2 separate regions of the Homo sapiens genome follow, and region 1 is linked to region 2. The links are contacts of gene promoters, found by promoter capture Hi-C in blood cells and fetal thymus (Javierre and others, 2016). All regions are on one chromosome and are shown on one strand. The core of a region is centred on a gene start or on the middle of the fragment in contact, and the rest is flanking DNA. Distances in the headings are between cores, read along the strand shown.

What was found. The method cuts DNA at HindIII sites, captures the fragments that hold promoters and counts their contacts. A CHiCAGO score of 5 or more calls a contact.
Region 1: a fragment that was not itself captured here is called in contact with the fragment with the promoter of ZW10 in region 2 in 1 of 17 cell types (naive CD8 T cells); the score reaches 5.7 in naive CD8 T cells.

Annotation. Positions count from the first base shown.
Region 1 is chr11:112,285,604-112,288,380 of GRCh38, reverse strand. All of the region lies in intron 1 of LINC02762 (long intergenic non-protein coding RNA 2762), which reads right to left. Among named protein-coding and RNA genes, the nearest start is that of LINC02762, 16 kb to the right of the region's middle. The HindIII fragment of the contact is 2,402 bases long and covers 73-2,474 here.
Region 2 is chr11:113,771,962-113,774,945 of GRCh38, reverse strand. It overlaps ZW10 (zw10 kinetochore protein), which reads left to right and starts at 1,254. Exons shown (of 16, transcript NM_004724.4): 1 at 1,254-1,384. The coding sequence starts at 1,280. RefSeq lists enhancers at 1,064-1,123, 1,254-1,523. The HindIII fragment of the contact is 9,750 bases long and covers 622-2,984 here.

The sequences.
Region 1 (2,777 bases), core at 24-2,523, 1.5 Mb after region 2:
GTTTCCTTTTCTGTATAGCTTTTATCACTATCTGAAGTTATCCTGCTTAGTTTACTTACTTATTTTCAAGCTTCCCCACCAGAATGTGAACTTGATGAGAACAGAGACTTTTGTTCATTACTGTTTCCGCAGAACCCGCAACAATGGTTAGCAATAAGTAGACAATAAACAATTGTTCAATGAATGACTGCAGCCTCTACACTCAGCTCAGGGAGATAAAAGGTAAGAAGAATGTGCTTTACACGTGCTATCCCCTTGGATCTTCACAACACTCTTTGGAAATAGATACAAATAGACATGATTAACCCCATTTAATAGATGAGAAACTCACATTGAAAGAAGTTAAGTGTTCAAAGCTGCACAGCTGAAGTGGCAGAGCTAAGATTCAAGTTCATGTCTACTTGACTGCAAAGGCTGCTTTTCATAAAATCACATTAACATCATGTTGGATACCTTCGATACACACAATACATTTTTTTTTAAGACGGAGTTTCACCCTTGTCACCCAGGCTGAAGTGCAGTGGCACAACCTCGGCTCACTGCAACCTCCACCTCCTGGGTTCAAGCGATTCTCCTGCCTCAGCCTCCCAAGTGGCTGGGACTACAGGCATGAGCCACTACATTGGCTAATTTTTGTATTTTTAGTAGATACAGGGTTTCATCATGCTGGCCAGGCTAGTCTCAAACTCCTGACCTCAGGTAATCCACTGGCCTTGGCCTCCCAAAGTGCTGGGATTACAGGCATGAGCTACCGCACCCGGCCAACATTTATTTTTTTTAAAAAAAATGTTAACCACATTGCCTCCCATTATCCCATTATCCACCTAGAAAAGCTAATAATAACAATGGCAAAGTCAAGAAATGTAGCCAAGGGGCCAACAGAGCCCCAGAGTCCTTAGAGAAACTGGCCACATCGGCATTTCCCCACTCGAGGACTCAGCCCCTGCCTCCAGTAGAAAATAGCAGAGGTGCCCACCTGGGAAGGCCTTGCCTTTATTATTCCTCTGGCCATAGCTGGCCATACCAAGGAGACCTCTTGCAGACATATCTTCTGGCCTGGCCCATGTTACTCTGTAAACCTAATGACATGTGTAACTCTCGTTGCTGATTACAACTGCCGAGCTCCTGTTGATCATCATGACAGGTAAGAGGCAAACACACATGCAGCTGCAATCAAGGACATGATGAGCACCTACCCTGAGCTCTGGATGGCACTGGGTGCTCAGGTTGCCCACATTTTAGACAGTCGCTGATTGGAGCAAGAATTATTAGGCCACACTCATCTGCATCCCCCAGGAAATGCTGGGTTGCCTTGACCCCCTGGGAGGAGTTATGAAGGGTCCCCACAGGCTAGAGCTTGGGTGGCTGGACACTGAGTTGGAGACCCTCGTACAAAGAAAGGGAGATTAAAATTTGTTCTGTAGAGTCAAGGGACTTGTGCTTGTCAACTTCCCCTCTTCATATGGCTTTGTTTCCCCATGTTGCTTTTAAACAGGTGGTTCAGGCAGGAGAAGAAATCAGCTCTTCCCTCCTCACCCCTATACTCCCCTTGGCCTGGCCCAGCTATAACTTCTGCTTATTCAAGACTCAGTAGTGTTGGTGCTGCCTCCAGGAAGCCTGTCCTGGCCCCTGAGACCTCTCCTCTGTGCTCAGAATAACCCCCATACATCACTGGATCCTGGTACTCGCCCTGCTGCATTATAATTATCTAAGTGTGGGTCTGTCTCCCATCCGGGCTGTGAGCTGAACTGAGGTAGGAACTGTGACCCATTTACTGTCATGTCTCCAGCTAACACCATGCCTGGCACAGAGTAAGTGGAATAAATATCTGGGCTAATGGAGTTGCTGGATTACCAGACTACGTGTTCTGACAGGTAGCTGGGAAGATAGGATCATCATAGTTCTAGTCTCTGTGCTGCCGACATTCACAAGCTCTTGGAAGACCTTAGGAATCATCTAGCCCTGTGCACAGGTTCCCACATCCTGAGGTCCCTGCACCAGGAAGGGTGGTCTGCCAGAACTACAAAGGCCGAGGGAACAACTTCTCAGGAAAGCCTTGGCCACAGGCTACTCTCATTTCTGAAGGCTCTGAGCCTATCTCACTGACCATTTAGAACAAATTGTTCATGACTCAACTTCATTATCTTCTACCCCGTATAGGAGCCCCAGCCTCCTCGGCTCTGCATTAGGTCATTGTTATCGCTCCCTTGTGGGCTTGCCATGTCACCTCCACAAGCAGCAGCAAAAATCACTTGCCAGAAAAAATGTCAGAAAAGCAATTAACATGAGCCTGGGTAGCAAGAAAGAAGCAACACATAAGAACAAAGGAGATGGCTCCTCCCTGCAAAGTCTGTGATTGCCTACCAGGGAAGCCAGCTCTGGGAGACCTGGGGATTGGGCTTGAGCCATCAGCCTCTGCCCCTGGTGCTTTATTTCAGAAGCACCAGCATCCCTTTAATCATGCGCAGGAAGCTTGACTGCTGTGGGAGCCCAAAGGGACCACCTGAAGCCTGTGATGAGACGGGCTGCAGCGCAGGAGAAAGACAGAGTCTCTCCCACTGCCTACTGAGGAATGCAGCTGCTCTGCAGCTGAACTTGGAGAGGCAAGAAAGAGAACAGACATTTAGGAAATGAGAGGTGACCCAGTGTCTGAACACTGAAGGTCATGGGGAGATACAAGAGACAGAGAACAGGCTGAGCATGGTGGCTCACGCCTGTAATCCCAGCACTTTGGGAGGTGGGCAGATCACGAGGTCAAGAGATTGAGACCATCCTGG
Region 2 (2,984 bases), core at 5-2,504:
CTACTTGGGGTCAACCCTCACAATATATCTTTTTAAAAAACCAAAAACCTTTTAATCAAAACAGTACATCTGGCTCTTGGTATCCACGGATCCAACCAACCACAGATCAAAAATATTCTGGAAAAAACTAATAAAAAATAACAATACAACAACAAAAAATAATGCAAATCAAAATACAATATAACGACTCTATAGCATTTAGATTGATTTGTATTAGGTCTTATAAGTAATCAAGAGATGATTTAAAGTGTATGGGGAGGATGTGTGCTGGTTACTTGTAAACATTACATCATTTTATGTAAGAGACTTGAGCATCCACGGATTTTGCTACTGGGGCAGGGGAGGTTTCTGGAACCAATCCCCCCATACCAAGGGAGGACTGTGTATGTTTACTGCAGAAAAATAGAGAAAGCAAGGGCAGAGAAGAGAATAAATACCATAAATCCACCACCCATAGGATAATTTGATGTCTGTCCTTTACATACATACTTACATACTTTTTGTTTTCTGACCAATGGTTATACACTTAAGTTTTTAAAAAGGAATCATAGTATACATAGAATATTGTGAACATCTTTCTGTATGCAATGCATTAAAATAATGAAACCATTTTTAAAAGCTTTTGACACATTTATATATTTATAATATGACAGAAAGTACTAAGTATCTTGTTCACACAGGACTAATATTATGTATATCTAAGTAATATAAATATGTAATGTAGGTAATGTAAATGTGTAATGTATCACGTAGATGTAATATATGTACATAGATGCAATTATAAGCAACCTTTTATTTATAATGAGGTGACGCCACTTCTTTACACAACTCTAGAGGGCGCCATTCGTAGATTCTGGTGCCACAGCGGCCCAATAAAAGTTGAGGAAAAAAGATCGAGATGGGCTCGTTGGCTCTTTCAGTTAGATAATTTTACAAGTAAGCCTTTTGAAGTTTAGAAAGGTTCAGTTAGACCTGGTTATTAAAAACGTTTAATTTCCTCCAGTGAAAAACGGGCGGGAAGCAACGAACTTTGAAAACAACTAAGGAAGAAAACGCGTCTGCTTACAGTTTGCCAACTACGGGACACCGTGGAAATCCCATCTCGGGATTGGCGCGGTGCCTGCTGGGAGTTGTAGTGCGCCCCTCGCCTTCCGGGCGGCGGTCTGAGGCCCGCGAGACTCCGTTTCCCGGCAGGCCTCGCGTCAAGACGGCCGGCGGGACGGGAGCTGCGGCGCTGGCTACGAGAGTGACCCAGTCAGCGTTGGTTCCCGTCTTGGCCATGGCCTCGTTCGTGACAGAAGTTTTGGCACACTCCGGGAGGCTGGAAAAGGAGGATCTGGGGACCCGGATCAGCCGCCTGACCCGGCGGGTGGAGGAGATCAAGGTGAGAGCGGGGCAGCTGTCTGCTGACTGGAAGGGGACTCCGGGTCCTTGTGTGAAGGGACTGGAGAGAGGAGTCAGGGGCTAAGGGCAGACAGAGTGGGGACCAGCAGAGTGGGGCCTGTTGGGGAGATCTAGTTGTGGGGGCTGAATGAGGAGTGGAGGGGCCCAGAATGTGTGGATTGAGGAGGGATCTTGGAGGGGAGCCCACACAGGGGTTGGGAACTGAGGAGGCGAGGAGACCTGGGACTGTGGGGACGAACAGGCGGTGGCTGGAGAGCACTGGAGAGTGGAGTTATGTTGGGGAGGGGTGTGCCGCGGGAAGAGGGAGACTGAAGAGACCAGCAGAGCGGGAGGAGCAACTGGAAGCTCCGAGGAAGCTAGGGAGCGAGCGCAGGAGAGGAATAGAAAAGACAGGATCCCCCTTCCCCTTCTTCCATCGATGAGTGTTTATTTCCTCCACCCACTCCTTGATTTGTTGATGAATAAAATAGCCTGGAGGATTGCACCTTTCTCCTCCCCGACATTAAAAAAAAAACAAACCCAAACCCTCAGTATGTTTTTATTTTTATGTATCTATCTATCTTTTGAGATGGAGTCTTGCTCTGTCGCCCAGGCTGGAGTGATCTCGGCTCACCGCGACCTCTGCCTCCCGGGTTCAAGCGATTCTCCTGCCTCAGCCTCCCGAGTAGCTGAGATTACAGGCGCGTGCCACCACGCCTGGCTAATTTTTTTTTTTTTTTTTTTGTATTTTTAGTACAGACGGAGTTTCACCATGTTGGCCAGACTGGTCTCGAACTCTTGACCTCAGGTGATCCACCCGCCTCGGCCTCCCAAAGTGCTGGGATTACAGGTGTAAGCCACCGTCTCCGGCCTCTTAATGTGGTTTTAAAACTTCATCTACAAGCACATGAAGCTGTGCTGAGTGTCATTGGTACCTACGTAAACGTTGCTGCCTTGAGATTGATACAAAAACTGGAAGCACGTAGCCACACACAGTTTTGCTTTGTACTGATATTGTTACCTTGCCAGTATTTGTCCACATCTTCAGTTGCTTTCATTTAAAATTTTGTGTATCTGAGTCAAGTAGGGTTTCGAGGGAGCAAGTTTGCCACACACCATAAGGGCACAGGTATAACCCTTCCTAACAGCTCTTGATTTTACAAAAGTAGTTTCCTGAATTTTAAGTAGTCATATCCCTGACATCTCTTCTTTAATATGGCTTTCGGATTTTTCACCACTGTTTAATGTGATGGAAAGAGGACAGGTTTTTAAGTTACTCTAGCATGGCAAGCGACCCTAGCTCCTGCGTGTTCTGGACCCAACATGCCTTTCTTTGCTTTCACTAGTTTCCTTTACCAACTTGAATCTTCAGCCAATTGAGAATTACTTTCTCTGCTCTCCCTCCCTTTTTTAATCCCATATTTTGCTTATGTTGCCATTTTTCCATCTTTACCTGTAGTATTTTTCAAACCCATTTTTCAAGTTCCATTTCAAATGTCTCCTGCATAAAAAAAAATCTTTATCTTCCCTCAGGGAGAGGGGATCTCTTTCTCATTTGTGCTCCTGGAAGGCTTTGTAACTTTGTTGCTGTATTACATTTC